Regions from separate parts of the Homo sapiens genome. Here all the other regions are linked to region 1. Evidence: promoter capture Hi-C in 16 types of primary human blood cells and fetal thymus (Javierre and others, 2016). All regions are on one chromosome and are shown on one strand. Each heading gives the region's core, a stretch centred on a gene start or on the middle of the fragment in contact. The rest is flanking DNA. Distances are from core to core; before and after follow the strand shown.

Region 1 (3,514 bases), core at 574-3,073:
AATGTTAGCAAAAAAGTTTTGTATCACAACTTTGAATCTGTTTAACAAAACCGGTTAGGCTGTTAATGTTTGCTTGCTTTCCTTTATACGTATTATACTCATATGAGGACTTAAAATTACATTCTGTAAATAAATAGGCCCATGAGAGAACTTTCATTTAGAAGCAAACTTTGAAGGTGCAGTTACTGCTTAAGTGGGCTGTGCAAATATTCCTGTCACTGGAGGTCCCTTTAACTGCGTGGGGGACCTTCAGAATCCAAGGGGCAAATAGAAACTTGGAGAAGTGAAGAGAAAAAAAGGGCACATTGAGATGGCACTGGAGATCCTTGCTAAATAAAGGAAGATGTTGGCAAGGAATACAGAAAAAAGTATGAAACAGAGACTACTGGAGGTATTCAAGTTGGAAAATGCAAAGTGTCCCTTTTTTTTTTTCACATCAACAACTTACGTTTATGCTAATCTACTTAAATGTTAAGTCTGGCCAAGCAATTAGACTATTTAACCTTGTTTGGAGTTAAATGCAGACAGTGTGTGAGACTGTGTTCACAGTACTGTATTACGTCTTTAGGAAAGAGGATCTAGATTTCATTTTGTCCTTCTCAGGATTGTGTCTGCTATGCAAGCACTGGTTTTCTATAGTCTGGCTTGTAAGGCACAAGGAGCAATTAAACAGAGGATTAAGGTAAACAGGTGTGTCCCATCACTTCCCCTCTTCATACTATATTGTTCATATTCTCTGAATTTCATACAAGCTACAGTGGAAGCAGTAAGTTAACTTTAAAAAATCATAAGATTGCCCATACTTCTAGGTTATGCAAATTGATTTCTGAATAAGCCCTTGTTTGCGACATCGCTGGTAAAGGCAGGATGTTAACTTAAAGAGATGCCAGATTTTGGACTTGTTAGTTATAGGCATCAAAACCTGGAACTAGGAAATGTATTTCCACGTATTACTTCCATTATCCTACTAATGTTAGAAACAGGCAACTAACCACATCCTCGACCCCAACCATATTTCAGGAGAGGCTGGCTGAATTTTGCAATATGATTCCAAAAGGGAGTATTTGCAGGGTCTTTGAAGCTATAAATCCCCTAGGAAGAGTCTTCCCCACCTGTCAGGACCTGGACAGTGTCCACAGAGGGTGCCGGGCGCACTACCGCCACGCGGCGCTGAGGTCTGCCTCTCGGGTTTTGGGAGAGCTCTTTTTATTCTAAATTACAGACTTTGCAGCCACCGGATATCCTCGCTGCATAACTGGCAGTGGCCATGTGGCTGCACTCGCGTTTCCTGACAACCACTGCATTATTTCCACTAATATCCTGTGTCCAAGGCCTCTCGCTTGGCGACTCCTCGTTCCCACCTCCACCGCCACCTCTTCCCTCGAGGGTAATCTCTCGACCGTGGCCCAAGCGCCTCGACAAAGCGGCAACCACCCAAAAGTTCATGAAAATGCACTTGGCAAAAGTGGGCCGCTAGTCCCCGCGGACAGCTCTAAGCGACCCCGTCCCAGCCGAGGAAAGCGCCCGGGCCCCGCAGAGTGCGCGCTGCGGGGCGGGCCCGCGGCCATGTGCTCCGCGCCGGGGCGGGGCACCCGCGGGTTCGCATTGTCCACTTTCCCCCGCACCCCGCCGCGTTCCGTCCCTCCCTATCTGCGGCGCACACGCGCTCAGAGCAAGCGGCGCGCCCGGGTCTGGAGCTGCAGCAGCTGCGGCAGCGGCGGGGGTGGTGCGGCGCGGGGCGGGGCGGGGCGGGGCGGGGCGGGGCGGGGCGGCACGGGGGCGGGCCCGGGGCGAGGCAGCTGGGGCGCCAGCGAGCTAGCGGCGAGCGCGGCGAGCAACGGAGAGGAGCGCGAGCAGCAGCATGGCGGGGCTCCGACGCCCGCAGCCCGGCTGCTACTGCCGCACCGCGGCGGCCGTGAACCTCCTGCTGGGCGTCTTCCAGGTCCTGCTGCCCTGCTGTCGCCCGGGAGGGGCTCAGGGACAAGGTCAGCCTTGCGCCGCTGGGCTCGCTCTGCCTCTCCACCCCGCCCCCGCTCTTTCTTTTAGGGAACTGCTGAAATCTATAAGAGGGCGAGGGGAGGAAAGGGAAAGGGGCAGGAGGAGGAAGGAAAGCTGTTGCGATTCTCCGCTGATAACATTTTCTGACCACAGCGTCCCGTCCCGCGCCTCTCTGCCCCGTACAGCTGGAGAGCGGGGCAGTCGCGGGGCTTGGGGACCGCTAGCCGCTCGCGCCCTGGAGCCTTTGTGCGCGGGCCCCTGCGCCCCGGGCGCAGCCCCCGCTTTGTGTGGCGCGCGCGGGTGCCCCGCAGCGGCCCGGCTTCCTGCAGCTTTGTTCCCCCGAGCCTGGCCGCCCAGGGTCCACACTCCAGATGCTCGGGCTGCGGAGCCCGGAGTGCCTCGTGGGGTGTCTTCACTCCCACTTCGTCCCCCCACCCCCAGCACGAGCACCCCGAGCCTGCCTGCACGCTGTCGCCTTCGCGTCCGAGGGGCCGCCGGCTCACACCCCACCCATTGTATTTTTATCCTTGGCTCGCCCCTGGGATGGCCTCTGTTCCCAGGAGGAAAAAGAGACGTGTTTTGGTGAGGCGGGGGGCACGGAGGGACGGTAGGGGAAACAGGAAGCGTTTCTTTAGCGTGCATTAAAAACGTGGTGTATTTTTTGGTGTTCCTGCAGCGATTGAGCCGTTGCCGAACGTGGTGGAGCTGTGGCAGGCAGAAGAAGGGGAACTCCTGCTGCCCACTCAGGTGAGGACGACCAGGTGACAGGGCGGCTGTGGGTGTACGAGGGAGGAGAGGCGGGGAGGCCCCCGGTCCTCCCCACCCCCTGTCCAAGCGGCACAGGCGTTCGGGCCACTTTGCAAGGCAAATAAACGTTAGGGGCCGAGCCTGAACACCTGGCAACGGTGGCCTTCCCGGCTCCTCCCACGCCATGTGACAGGGCCTGAGGCAGGCCGGCCCCAAGTTCAGAAGGTGGGAACCCAGGCCACCTCAGCAGGGAAGCGGCCAGCGGTCTGTTCGGCCGTGGGTGTCCTGGGTGCACACTGTTCCCTAAGTGAGCTGGTGCTGTGTGGATGGCAAGTGGCTAAGAGGTTGAGGACAACAGGAGTATTGATTTCATAAATGTTAGAGTGGTATTTGCCATTAGCGTTAAGTAGCTTTGGGATGGAGATGTGACTCTCAAGGATTGTCATCTTGGATTTTCTCCAAGTGCCCTTAATTCCTGTTAAAATACACCCACTTAAGAACTTGAATTTCTGGTTTTTTTCTCTGTATGATGATATGATGATTGCGTGTAGAAAAATAATTACTGACGTTTTATTGGGAATCTGTAGCATCATAGAGGGTTTATTGCTGCAACAGATACAGTACTGCAAAGCTTTTAACTTTTACAAGAAATTCCCATTGACTGTGAAGTGTGCACATTTAAATATAATGTTGTTGACTGCCTTTCACCAGTAACGGTAGTGATCCAAAATGCATTTTTTGGGTGGGAGTGGCTTGAATTATAAGGAAA
Region 2 (3,514 bases), core at 652-3,151, 240 kb before region 1:
GAGGCCTTTCTTCGTTTCCTGCTTCTATGTTCCTATAACCCTCTGTCCATACACTTCTATCATTTCATAGTGTTTTGAAATTGTAGGTCGTCCCTCCCCACCTTCCCCTCTGCCCCCCAAAGAAGATAAGGCCCTTGAAAGTAGACTCATGCTTTTTCAAGCTTTGTATTCTCAGCCTTGTGACAGATGAAGGAAGGGAGGAAGGTAAGGAAGGAAGGATGGAGGGAGGAAGGAAGGAAGGAAAGAAGAAAAGAAGGAAGGAAAGAGTGAGGAAGGGAGGGAGGGAGGAAATAAGGAAGGAAGGAAAGAAGAAAAGGAAGGAAAGAGCGAGGAAGGAAGGGAGGGAGGGAGGAAATGAAGGAAGGAAGGAAAGCGCGAGGAAAGAAGAGAGAGAGGAAGGAAGGGAAGGAGGAAGGAAGGAAGGAGGGAGGAAGGAAGGGAGGGAGGGAGAGGGAGAAAAGGAACGAAAGAGTGAGGAAGGAAGGAAAGAGGGAGGAAGGGAGGAAGGAAGGAAGGGAGAGAGGAAGGAAGGAAAGAAGGAAGGAAAGAGCAAGGAAGGAAGGAAAGAGCGAGGAAGGGAGGGAGGAAGGAAGGAAGGAAAGAAAGAGAGAGAGAGGAAGGGTCCCTACTCCAACTTCTTTTACGGAGTAAAAAGGCCTAAAGAGACAGTCATGACTTATCATTTGCAGGACTGATTGTATCATACTTGACTCATTTGTTAACATTCACTTGAAGGAAACGCAGAGATTTTTTTTCTTCGCTCACATTCAGGAGCTGTGCTTGCTTATAATGAACTGTCATGATGGAGGCCGGCCCGTTTCAGCTCTCTCAGCCCCGTCAAGCTGAACTCACTTCCCCTGAAAGGACAGTGTTTGCATTTGTGTTTACGGGACTGGGGAAGAGGATGCGTTTTCAGGAGACCTGAAAACCGAGCCAACCCCCTTTTCCTGCCCCGCTGTGCTGCGATTGGCCCATCTTGGAGGCTGGCTGCAGGAGCCTTTAGTCATCGCACAGGGAAATCTTTCTGGAACCGGGCACCAACTTGCGTGTTTGTTTTCATGCTCTTTGTGCGGGGATTAGCTGTCGTGCCGGGCCTGAAAATGCTGCGAGCGCCGGGCGACATCTAATCCAGGATTTGCCTCTGCCTCGCGGTTGATGGAAAACAGATGTCTTACTGCTCTGGGCCTGAGCACAGAATGGAAATGACCGACCAGAGAGCCATTTGGAGCCGAGGACACCCGGTGAAAGCCATTCAGAGTCCAGCCAGGAGGCCGACTTTCCTCCTCTGGTCTGTTTTTACTACTTGAGCCGCTCGCTCAGAAAACGGCCTTAGATAAAGCAGTTTCACCTTCAGATCGCCTGAGGCTGCAGAAGGGCGGCTGCGGGGGAGGAAGGAGGAGGCGGAGAGGAGCGGGTGCGAAGTCCTGGGTCGCCTGCCCGCTGCCTGATGTCGTGAGCTAGGGCACCTCGGCCCTGGCTGGGCGCGCAGCGAGGCCCAGGCCCGAGGGGTGAGGCCCAGGCCACTCCGGAGCGCGCGCTGTTCCCGCGAAGCGAGTCGCCGTCTCGTAGTAAGTCGTGGCTCGGGCTGTGCCCTGGGAACCCTCCCGCCCGGGCAAGGTCCGGTGGCCGGAGCGTGCGGGAAGCCTGCCCAGAGTCCATTTCCGGACGGGCGCTGCGGGGCTGGCAGCCGGCCTGGAGCGGGTGCAGTGGGTCGGCGCGGCGCAGAGCTGTCAGCAACAGGGCCGCTGAGCAGCAGAACCTGGACGCCGCGCGGCTCCCAGGCCCTGCCCGCGGAGCTCTCCCGGGAGTCGCGGACCTCTGCCGTCCTCAGTCACCCGCGTCATGCAGGATAGCTTTCAAAGTCATTTTGCAGAGAAAAAAAGATACTGAGCAATCTGAAAGCAGGACTGTAGTAATTTTGAAAAGATCGGCTTCCTCTTTTTCTTTAAAAACATGTTTGGTCATTTTCCTAAAACTACTTTCCTTCCTTTAGCCTCCTCTTTTATTCTTTGCCCCAGCTCGTACTACAGTTCGGGCTTATTAGAGCAGGGAGATGGTGACTTTTGAGGGTTTGCAGGGCTCTTTCTGGTTGGTGTATGTATTCTGAAAATACTTGCCCGGTGTTGAAAGCTGCATGCCGCTGACAAAGTAGATAAAAAGCTGGGAGTGTGGAGGACGGTTCGTCTCACTAAATGCCTGTCAGATCCAAAGCATTCTGTGAACCCCAAATTCGTTCCGACCTGTAATCCAACCCCATGGAGCAACTGATGCCTTCCACCAGGCCCCTTTGCTTTCCCGGGAAATCACCAGCTTTAATTTATGGAACAGAGACAGCTTTAGATTCAAAGACTTTTAAAGAGTTAATTTTAGAGCACTTAGAATTCCAGCCATCCAAAGATTAGGCTAGCCCCTTAGGGTGTGAGGGGTTGTTCTTGCAGCAGTATGCACATCTATGCCTTTTTTCATTGTTTTCTTCTAAAAATGGAGATTAAATTTTACATCAATATTTTTAGAATGTAGTTAAGAGTTGTTGCCTGACAACTTGTATTGAGGGTTCCTTTCCCAGGGGGTGGGAGGAGGTATTGTGCTGGGTCCACTGCTTCCCAGCTCCACGTGACCTTTCCTCTCAAATTTCCACTTGATTTCATCTTTGGCAGAACTGGTACCTGCCCTTCAGCTCCAAGAAACAAAAGAGCAGGGGTGAGTCAGAAGGCTTTGACTACCTCACCCTTAACTAGAGATAGAAAGTACTTGATTAAATTCTTTGTGATACACATTGCATTTCCTTCCCTTTCCAACTTAGGTTCATATAACAATGAAGGATCAATTAAAATGAACTCCACCTCCCTTCTCCCTTAGGGTAAATATGGATTCCCTTAGGGCTGAGTTGGGCAGGGCCATCTACACTAATGAAAAGTCTTCTAGGTGAGGTAATCTGGCCTGTTCTGGGCTAGGTACAGAACACCACATCCCATTTGCCCTCATTAACTCATTCTTTTAACTCATTCTTTTCCTGGCAGCCTCCCTTTTCTTTCTATCCTTTTCTGTATAATCCCATTTAGCTACCCACCATAACTCTACTTTGGATCATGGAATCTAGGATACCATCACTGACAAGGTTTGTTTAGATGACTGTCTCTTATCAGTATTCCCTGAGAACATTTTTCCAATTCCTGCCTTTATTTTCCTGGAAAATTCTATGTCGATTAAATCCTCCACTAGAAATTCCATTGTATCTGTCAAAAATAAGCATCACACTCACATCTTGAATATTTTTCTTGCATCATCATTTTAATGCTGACTTGCACAGCTTCCTGATTTCTACTTCAAATTTAAATACAAATGGAAGGAAGTTGTTATAAGACACTAAATATAAATGGGTTAGATAGTCTCAGTGAGAATTAACATCTTATTCTCTGACCTTTTCTTTAGTCTGTCCTTGGGTTGAATTCTATCCTTTCAATTTCTGACCATTGACTACTCTAGAAAGAGGTTGGATAGTTATTTTGTGTGT
Region 3 (3,514 bases), core at 539-3,038, 220 kb before region 1:
TAAAAATACAAAAAAATTAGCTGGACATGGTGGCACATGCCTGTAATCCCAGCTACTCAGGAGGCTGAGGCAGGAGAATTGCTTGCACCCAGGAGGCTGAGGTTGCTGTGAGCTGAGATAGCGCCACCACACTCCAGCCTGGGAAACAGAGTGAGACTCTGTCTCAAAAAAAAAAAAAAAAAAAAAAAACTGTATAGGCATATCTCTTCTGATTTTGCATGATTCTGCTCGCTATCATTTATTGATGTATTTTATTTGGCTTATGAAAAGGTGATGAAGTGTAGTGTTTTATTAAACTATTCATATGCCCAAAAAAACCCCACAAATGCTTACTGAATCCTTAAATGAGCCCAGCTCCAGGAGTAAAAAAAGTGAATTATCAGTCATTTCTAAAGGAACTCATAAATCTAGTAGTGGCCATAATAATGATAGTAATAATTTATGTTCTGACTGCTTATGATGCATCAGGCATTGGATCATGTGTTTTTTTTTTTTTTTTTTGAGATGGAGTCTCGCTCTGTCCCCCAGGCTGGAGTGCGGTGACACAGTCTCTGCTCACTGGCGCGTCCGCCTCTGGGATTCAAGCGATTCTTGTGCTTCAGCCTCCTGAATAGCTGGGATTACAGGCGCCTGCCACCATGCCCGGCTAATTTTTATACTTTTAATAGAGACAGGGTTTCACCATGTTGGCCAGGCTAGTCTTGAACTCCTGAGCTCAGGTGATCCACCTGTCTCAGCCTCCCAAAGTGCTGAGATTACAGGCGTGAGCCACCGCACCCGGCCTAGATCAGGTTCTTTACATAGACTAAACAAACCATTTCCTTCTCCTAACAACGCTATGTAGTCAGTACCCTTGTCATCCCCCGTACACTTGAGGTAATTGAGGAATACAGGTTAAATTACTTACCCAGGGTTATACAACTTGTAAGTGGCAGAGCCAGGATCCAAACCCATTCTTGGCTCTAGAGCCCATCCTCTTCTCCACTACCGCACCTGAGACTTACTGTGTGTTAGGCATGGGGCTGACAGTGACACACTGGATCATTTAATCATCACAATGGCATTAGGAGGTAGCATTTTACAAACGAGCTAACAGACAGGCAAGGAGCAACCTGCAGATAAAGCAAATCCAGATATGTCTCCAGAGCCCGTGCCTTAATCGCAGATGCATTCTGACTTTCATCATAGGATTCTAATCGTGGATGAAAGTGACCCTGAGTTGTAGTGCCAGGCAGGTTGCTTAGGAAAATACTCTTCTGGTAACATGTTGGAGGGGCAGCCTTCTGAGGATGGTGTCAGATTCCCCTGTCCTCTGATTAGCTCCCTCTGCCAAGGTGCCCAGGCTCCTACTTCAGTGTCACCTCCAGGTTTCAAAGCATGGAAACCCAAGCATGTTACTCGGAGAAAGTCCCACCCCCAGCATGGGCGCATCGGCTTAGAACCCTCCAGGGTTAGCAGGCAAAGAGCTGTGGACCCCGGACACGGGAAAAGGCCACAGTCGGGAGAACTCCTGTTGCTGGAGGGCCAGGCGGGGGCGATCCCCAGGGCTCCCAGCTTTTAATGCTGTCACCGCGGGCCTTACTCCCTCCTCTTCCCCACATCGCCACCACTTGAATCAGTTCTTTTACAAAGTGGTTCTATTTCCTGGTGAGACAAAAAGGTTAGAAAAGGAAACCTAGAGGGGGTGGGGGAAAGACAGAGGTTCGGAATACCGGCGCGCAATCGCCATCTGGGTGGAGGGGACCCGCCTTCTTTTCTTCCGCCTGAGCGCAGCTCGGCTCCCGCCTCGGGGCGGGGCCTGTTGCTATGGAGCCCGGGCCCCGGCAGAGCCTGCGGGGTGAAAGCCCCTAGGGCTCCGCCTGGCATGCGTGGCCGGGGCTGTCTGAGATTTCCCCAGGTCGGTGGTTATGACCGCAGGATGGAATCGTAGAGGTCGGGTGATTTGGTCAGTAGAGAGGAACATTTGCGAGGTTCTCTCTGAATTACATGTTGGTCTAAAAGTAATCCACTATCTGGGACCGAGAGGAAAGCATGTGTGGAAGAGGCAGGCATTATTAGCAGCGCGTCCGCCTCGGCCACCTCCCTGCTCCCGCCTCGGCCACCTCCCTGCTCCCGCCCCGGCCCTGGGGGCCTCTGTTCAGCCTCCACCAGCTCAGTCGCCCACGGAGACTCCCGAACTCTTAAATCCCAGCCCTGTAGTCAAAACCACTGCATTAATTAAACAAGGTAAACTGGTGAGGCAAGCAGGAACTTGACACCGCCTTGAATTTAATTGTTAAAATGAGAAGTGTGGTAATGGAGCTCTGCTTAAGAGAAAAACAATACTTGATACCGATGTGCACATCGATGTGGACACGGATGCAATCAGGAACCCATAGTTAGCACCGGGAGATTACATTCCGGGTATACTCAAGATAGATAGAGTCAACTTTGAATTCTCGAGGCCAAGCAATGGGCGAAACAAAAGAGCTTTGTGTTTGCGTGCTTTTGCTTTTTGTTACAGTCAGAGCAGGACAAAGAATAATGAAGGAGTAGACATGTTATTACTTGGGCATTTAATAATCAGTGCATGGCAGAGCCTTGTGTTTTGCTTGTCTTTTTTTTTTTCTTTTCTTTTCTTTTTTAAAGACAGGGCCTCACTCTGTCACCCAGACTGGAGTACAGAGGCCCCATCTCAGCTTACTACAACCTCAGCTTCTTGGGTTCAAGTGATTCTCCTGCCTCAGCCTCCCAAGTAGCTGGGACTACAGGCACGCGCCACCATGCCTGGCTAATTTATGTATTTTTAGTAGTGACGGGGTTTTGCCATGTTGACCAGGCTGGTCTCGAGCGCCTGATCTCAAGGGATCTGCCCACCTTGGCCTCCAAAAGTGCTGGGATTACAGGCGTGAGCCACCACACCAGGCCTACTTCAGTCTTTTCTACAAAACTACAGAACTCCCTATCAAGAGTAATGCTAGAGAAGGAATATTAATGGGATGGTTTGTTAGTACCTAGAAAAAAAAGCATCCTGAGTTCCATAAGAATAAATGATACCAGACCAACCAAAATTCCTCCTTGGATAGGGTTGCTGGGCATGAATTTATGTCCAATATGAGTCAATATGAGAAAAGTGCCAGGACCTCAGAGGTAATTAATAGAAGGATAGAGCCTGGAGCAAGCAAAGTGATGGTCTTGCTCTGCTCTGTGCTGGGCAGATCCCACCTGGATATGTCTTCAGTTTGGGGCAGCTCCCTGTGGGAAACATACTGGGCAGGGAGTCAGGGGTGCTTGACCTGGGTCACCTTTACTGCAAATACAGCCCGGCTGCAAAGGGCTATCCTGATCCTTGAGACTCTGAGCTGAAGGCAGATAACTCAGTCCCCAGGAGTGATTTTGAGAGGTTCTGTTTGTGTCATTTATTTTTTTGTCACCAGTGCCTTGTATACCACCTGGCACACAATCACTTGTGCAATGTATAACATTAAAGGGTCATCTGAAGGCCAGGCCACTTCTGGTGTGAATTCTTGGGTTG
Region 4 (3,514 bases), core at 522-3,021, 130 kb after region 1:
GAAGAGATGATAATTAGTTCATGTCTGTTATATCTTATTTTCACACAATCACAGTTTTACTTAGAATGTTTCCAGCTTCTCGTTTAGTAAGATCGACCCTTATCCCAGGGTTTCTCAGCTTTCGCAGTATTGGTATTTTGGACCAGATGGTTCTACCATTCTGTTTGGTGGGGGTGGGAGGAGCCATCTTGTGTGTTGAAGGATGTTTAGCAGCATTCCTGGCTTCTCCCACTAGATGCCAGTAGGAACTCCCCAGCTGTGACAACCAAAAATGTCTCCAGACGTAGCCCAGTGTTTCCCGTGGGATAAAATTGCCTTTGGTTGAGAGTCACTTTTTTTTTCAAAAAAGTTGCTTTATATTTAGAGCTTCTGTCACCATATGCTTCCTTACATCCTGTGATGCCAAAGTCATTCATTTAGCAATATTTATTGATCATTGACAATATGGCAGATATGGGTGTGGGAATGTGGGGTGGAGCTGGGTGGGAATGTGGGGTGGAATGTCGGGTGGACAGGATGGGATGAATTTTGTGTGTATGTGTGTGCAAATGTACTCACCTATGTATAAATGTATATATGTGCACACACTTATTAAATCTTTCTTTACTGGCAGATGTGAGTGCTGTTTTAAACATTTGCTTTTTTCCTTATAGGTTTGGCACTGATATGCAGATGATTAATTTCACAACTGGTGAATTCCAGCTCACCGAAGCTTGCCCTTACCTGGTAGGATGTTATCCTAAAACAGAAAAAAGAATGCCGACAAACTAGACACATGAGCATACGGGCCTCATTGATTTATGTTTAAAATGTCTTTTATTTACTATATATGGCTCTTTTATTTTGATTCTCTGGGCATTAACGATACATAGCAGATTTTTCCAGTTAACTAGTGCGGTAGGAGCTGGGTTTATGTTAGCTCTAAATCATTTTAATTTGATTATTTAGAATCATGTGAGTAAAGAAATAACAGTTGAACAGAGCTTTGTAGAAAACCATGAAACTTGAGACCCCAGAATTTATAATTCTCTTAAGATTCCTTGGCCCTCAAATTCTTTTTTAGGGCAAGATAAGGAAAAACAAATACATTAAAAAAAATCTTCTCTTACTAAACTGTGTTCCTGTTTTTAGCAAGTCACCCAATTTCTGTGATGTTTACCTTATCTATAAAAAAGGACTACTCTAAAATTCTTAAGCCTGTGGGCAGTCATGAGGTCTTGCCCAAATACTTAGGAGTAGGAGTAAACATGTCATGTGGTGAAGATGCTATTTGCCTGGGGACTTGGCAGCCTTACTTCTCAGTTTCCACTCAGTCATTCCGTGGCTATTTATATACAGCTGAGTGTTGGCCTTACAGGTATTCTGTGTTTGAGATCAATTCAAAAGTGGAGCATCTGTTGACAAAAAATACATACATACACATGTAAACTCACATATGCGGATAACTCTATTTTTACTACACTATATTTAAGCGCCTTGGGTATTTTCTTCTTTCTTTATCTTTATCCCTCCAAAAATATACTGTTGGCTCTAGATTACTTTCAATAACAGAAGGAGGGAGACCACAGATAACCCATTACCACAGACTCTCCTTTCTTTTCTTAAGTGTTGAGGCAGCACTGGGCGAGTTGGGGGGAGTGGTGAAGCCGTGCACCCAGGTGTGGTTTTATTCTTGTTAGCGAGTCTGCCCCTCTCTCTCCTTCTCATTTTCTCCACCAGGAGGTCTTCAAGGCTATTCAGGATAATTAGTCCAAAATACTAAGTGATATCTTGCCTCACTGGTATTGAATCATGTATAGCTTGAAATTCCAAAAATAATGCCCGTTTATTTTAAATCTAAATATTCTATTTAGATGTGAACAAATGATGTAACTCATTTGGAAGAAGTTTTTATCTATGACTGTTTTTCCCAAGAAATATTATATATTTTGGGATAAGAGAAATTATTACTATTGTTAATTTATTACATTGATGAAAAGAATAGTTAATATCAGTGCCTTGAAAACACTGAGTTAAAATTTAACTCAGAATTGTTATTAGAATTCTTCATCATGTAAAGAAAGGCTTCCTGCATTTTGATTTTGCTGATTTGCTTTTAGAAATATAGTTCCTTGGGTTAAGAACATTGGAGTTTTTTATATACCCTAAAAATGTCAGTGCCTGGCATATAAGAACCATTTAATAGAGGTGCTGTTTTTACTATAAGTTTAACACCAAAAGTCAGCAGCTTTTAAATTCAGTATTCATATTACCTGCGTAAAGCAGGGTTTCTTCCTTCATGGAGTTTATAATTCTAATAAAAATGAATCAAATAATCAAATACTATTACTATTCTCTTTTTCAGATGGCATGGGTAACACTAGCAATAACTGAAACATAAAATTAAAAGTTAAAAACAAAGAGAAATAATATTCTTCAGGATTATATATTAGCTCTAAGAAGTGATACATTGCATTGTTTTTAGTGAGATGGAGCTAGAAAAAGCAGTGGAAAGAGGGAAAGTCCACTTACCAAAAAGATAAAAAGAATTAAACCTTGGATACTAAACTTAGAGCACAAGTTTTATGCCAAAAAAAAAAAAAAACACGACATCTTGGAGAAAATAGAGGAAGATGTGAATAAATAAAGATCTTTCTTCTGACTGGAGATACTAAATATAATAAAGATGATTTCTATATAAACTTAAATTCAGTATAAAGAATTTATATAAAGAGATCTTTGGGTTGTCCAGTGGTGGGTGAGTGGTCTTGTCAGATTGCTCTAGCATTCAAGCAGAGGCTGTTGGGTCTGTTTTCTGATTGATGTTGTACATTCAAAGCATCTTTGTGTAGAAAGCTTCTAGCCCCAACTTCCATTCAAACCAGGAAGCAAATCCCCTCTCCAGCATCTGTGTGAGGTTGTCTTGTAGTCTCTGCCTATATTTCTTAGCTATGGCTCAGAAGCTGTTTATTGGAGTGAACTCTCAGGATAAGCAAGTTCTAACAGGTTGATTAGGAGGATCAAATCTGGACATTAAAAGAGAAGCAATCGTGTTTAAACTCTAGGATGCACTTAATGACAATGGAAGCTTGCTTTCTAGGAGTATGACATGGTTTAATTTGTTAATTTGCAGGGTACGCATTCTGAGGAATCCAGGTTTGGCATCCTCCACTTACATCTGCAGCCTTTGGAAATGAAAAGGGTTGGCGTAGTTTTCACACCTGCTGACTATGGAAAAGTTACCTCACTCATACTAATCCGGTAGGTGTGTTCCTGTTGTAGAATCTGTTTCTTTCTCAATGACTCATCTGTGTAAATCTCTTTAGCTGATAGTTGACGTTCACTTCTCAGTCAGACCTTCAGGATGAAGGCTGTGTTGCGGGGTAGGAAGAAGTGGAAGCTGAGAAAGAGGTCACTGGAGGCTTGACAAGTAATCCCCAAGGCCTCAGTCTCCTCTCTTCTCCAATAGGGAGTGTGCGTGCATGTCTCCAGGAGAGGTAGTGCTTTCCACACAGCTTCTCGTCTGTGCTGTCTC

What was found. The method cuts DNA at HindIII sites, captures the fragments that hold promoters and counts their contacts. A CHiCAGO score of 5 or more calls a contact.
Region 2: a contact is called between a fragment that was not itself captured here and the fragment with the promoter of TMEM131L in region 1, in 1 of 17 cell types (activated CD4 T cells). The highest score is 5.8, in activated CD4 T cells.
Region 3: a fragment that was not itself captured here is called in contact with the fragment with the promoter of TMEM131L in region 1 in 1 of 17 cell types (activated CD4 T cells); the score reaches 6.1 in activated CD4 T cells.
Region 4: a fragment that was not itself captured here is called in contact with the fragment with the promoter of TMEM131L in region 1 in 4 of 17 cell types (activated CD4 T cells, total CD4 T cells, erythroblasts and 1 more); the score reaches 10.9 in activated CD4 T cells.

Annotation. Positions count from the first base shown.
Region 1 is chr4:153,464,537-153,468,050 of GRCh38, forward strand. It overlaps TMEM131L (transmembrane 131 like), which reads left to right and starts at 1,824. Exons shown (of 35, transcript NM_001131007.2): 1 at 1,824-1,985; 2 at 2,675-2,745. The coding sequence starts at 1,862. RefSeq lists enhancers at 1,285-1,464, 2,835-3,500, 2,995-3,084, 3,455-3,514 and silencers at 1,505-1,654, 1,695-1,794, 2,165-2,524. The HindIII fragment of the contact is 8,794 bases long and covers 1-3,374 here.
Region 2 is chr4:153,221,472-153,224,985 of GRCh38, forward strand. The region is part of intron 1 of TRIM2 (tripartite motif containing 2); the gene reads left to right. Among named protein-coding and RNA genes, the nearest start is that of TRIM2, 19 kb to the left of the region's middle. RefSeq lists enhancers at 436-937, 733-1,062 and a silencer at 1,453-1,642. The HindIII fragment of the contact is 3,484 bases long and covers 160-3,514 here.
Region 3 is chr4:153,247,513-153,251,026 of GRCh38, forward strand. All of the region lies in intron 1 of TRIM2 (tripartite motif containing 2), which reads left to right. It overlaps LOC105377496 (a long non-coding RNA gene), which reads right to left and starts at 1,027. Exons shown (of 3, transcript XR_939360.4): 1 at 908-1,027. RefSeq lists an enhancer at 2,170-2,219. The HindIII fragment of the contact is 5,663 bases long and covers 1-3,514 here.
Region 4 is chr4:153,593,146-153,596,659 of GRCh38, forward strand. It overlaps TMEM131L (transmembrane 131 like), which reads left to right. Exons shown (of 35, transcript NM_001131007.2): 19 at 654-726; 20 at 3,113-3,240. Among named protein-coding and RNA genes, the nearest start is that of TLR2, 89 kb to the right of the region's middle. The HindIII fragment of the contact is 2,123 bases long and covers 711-2,833 here.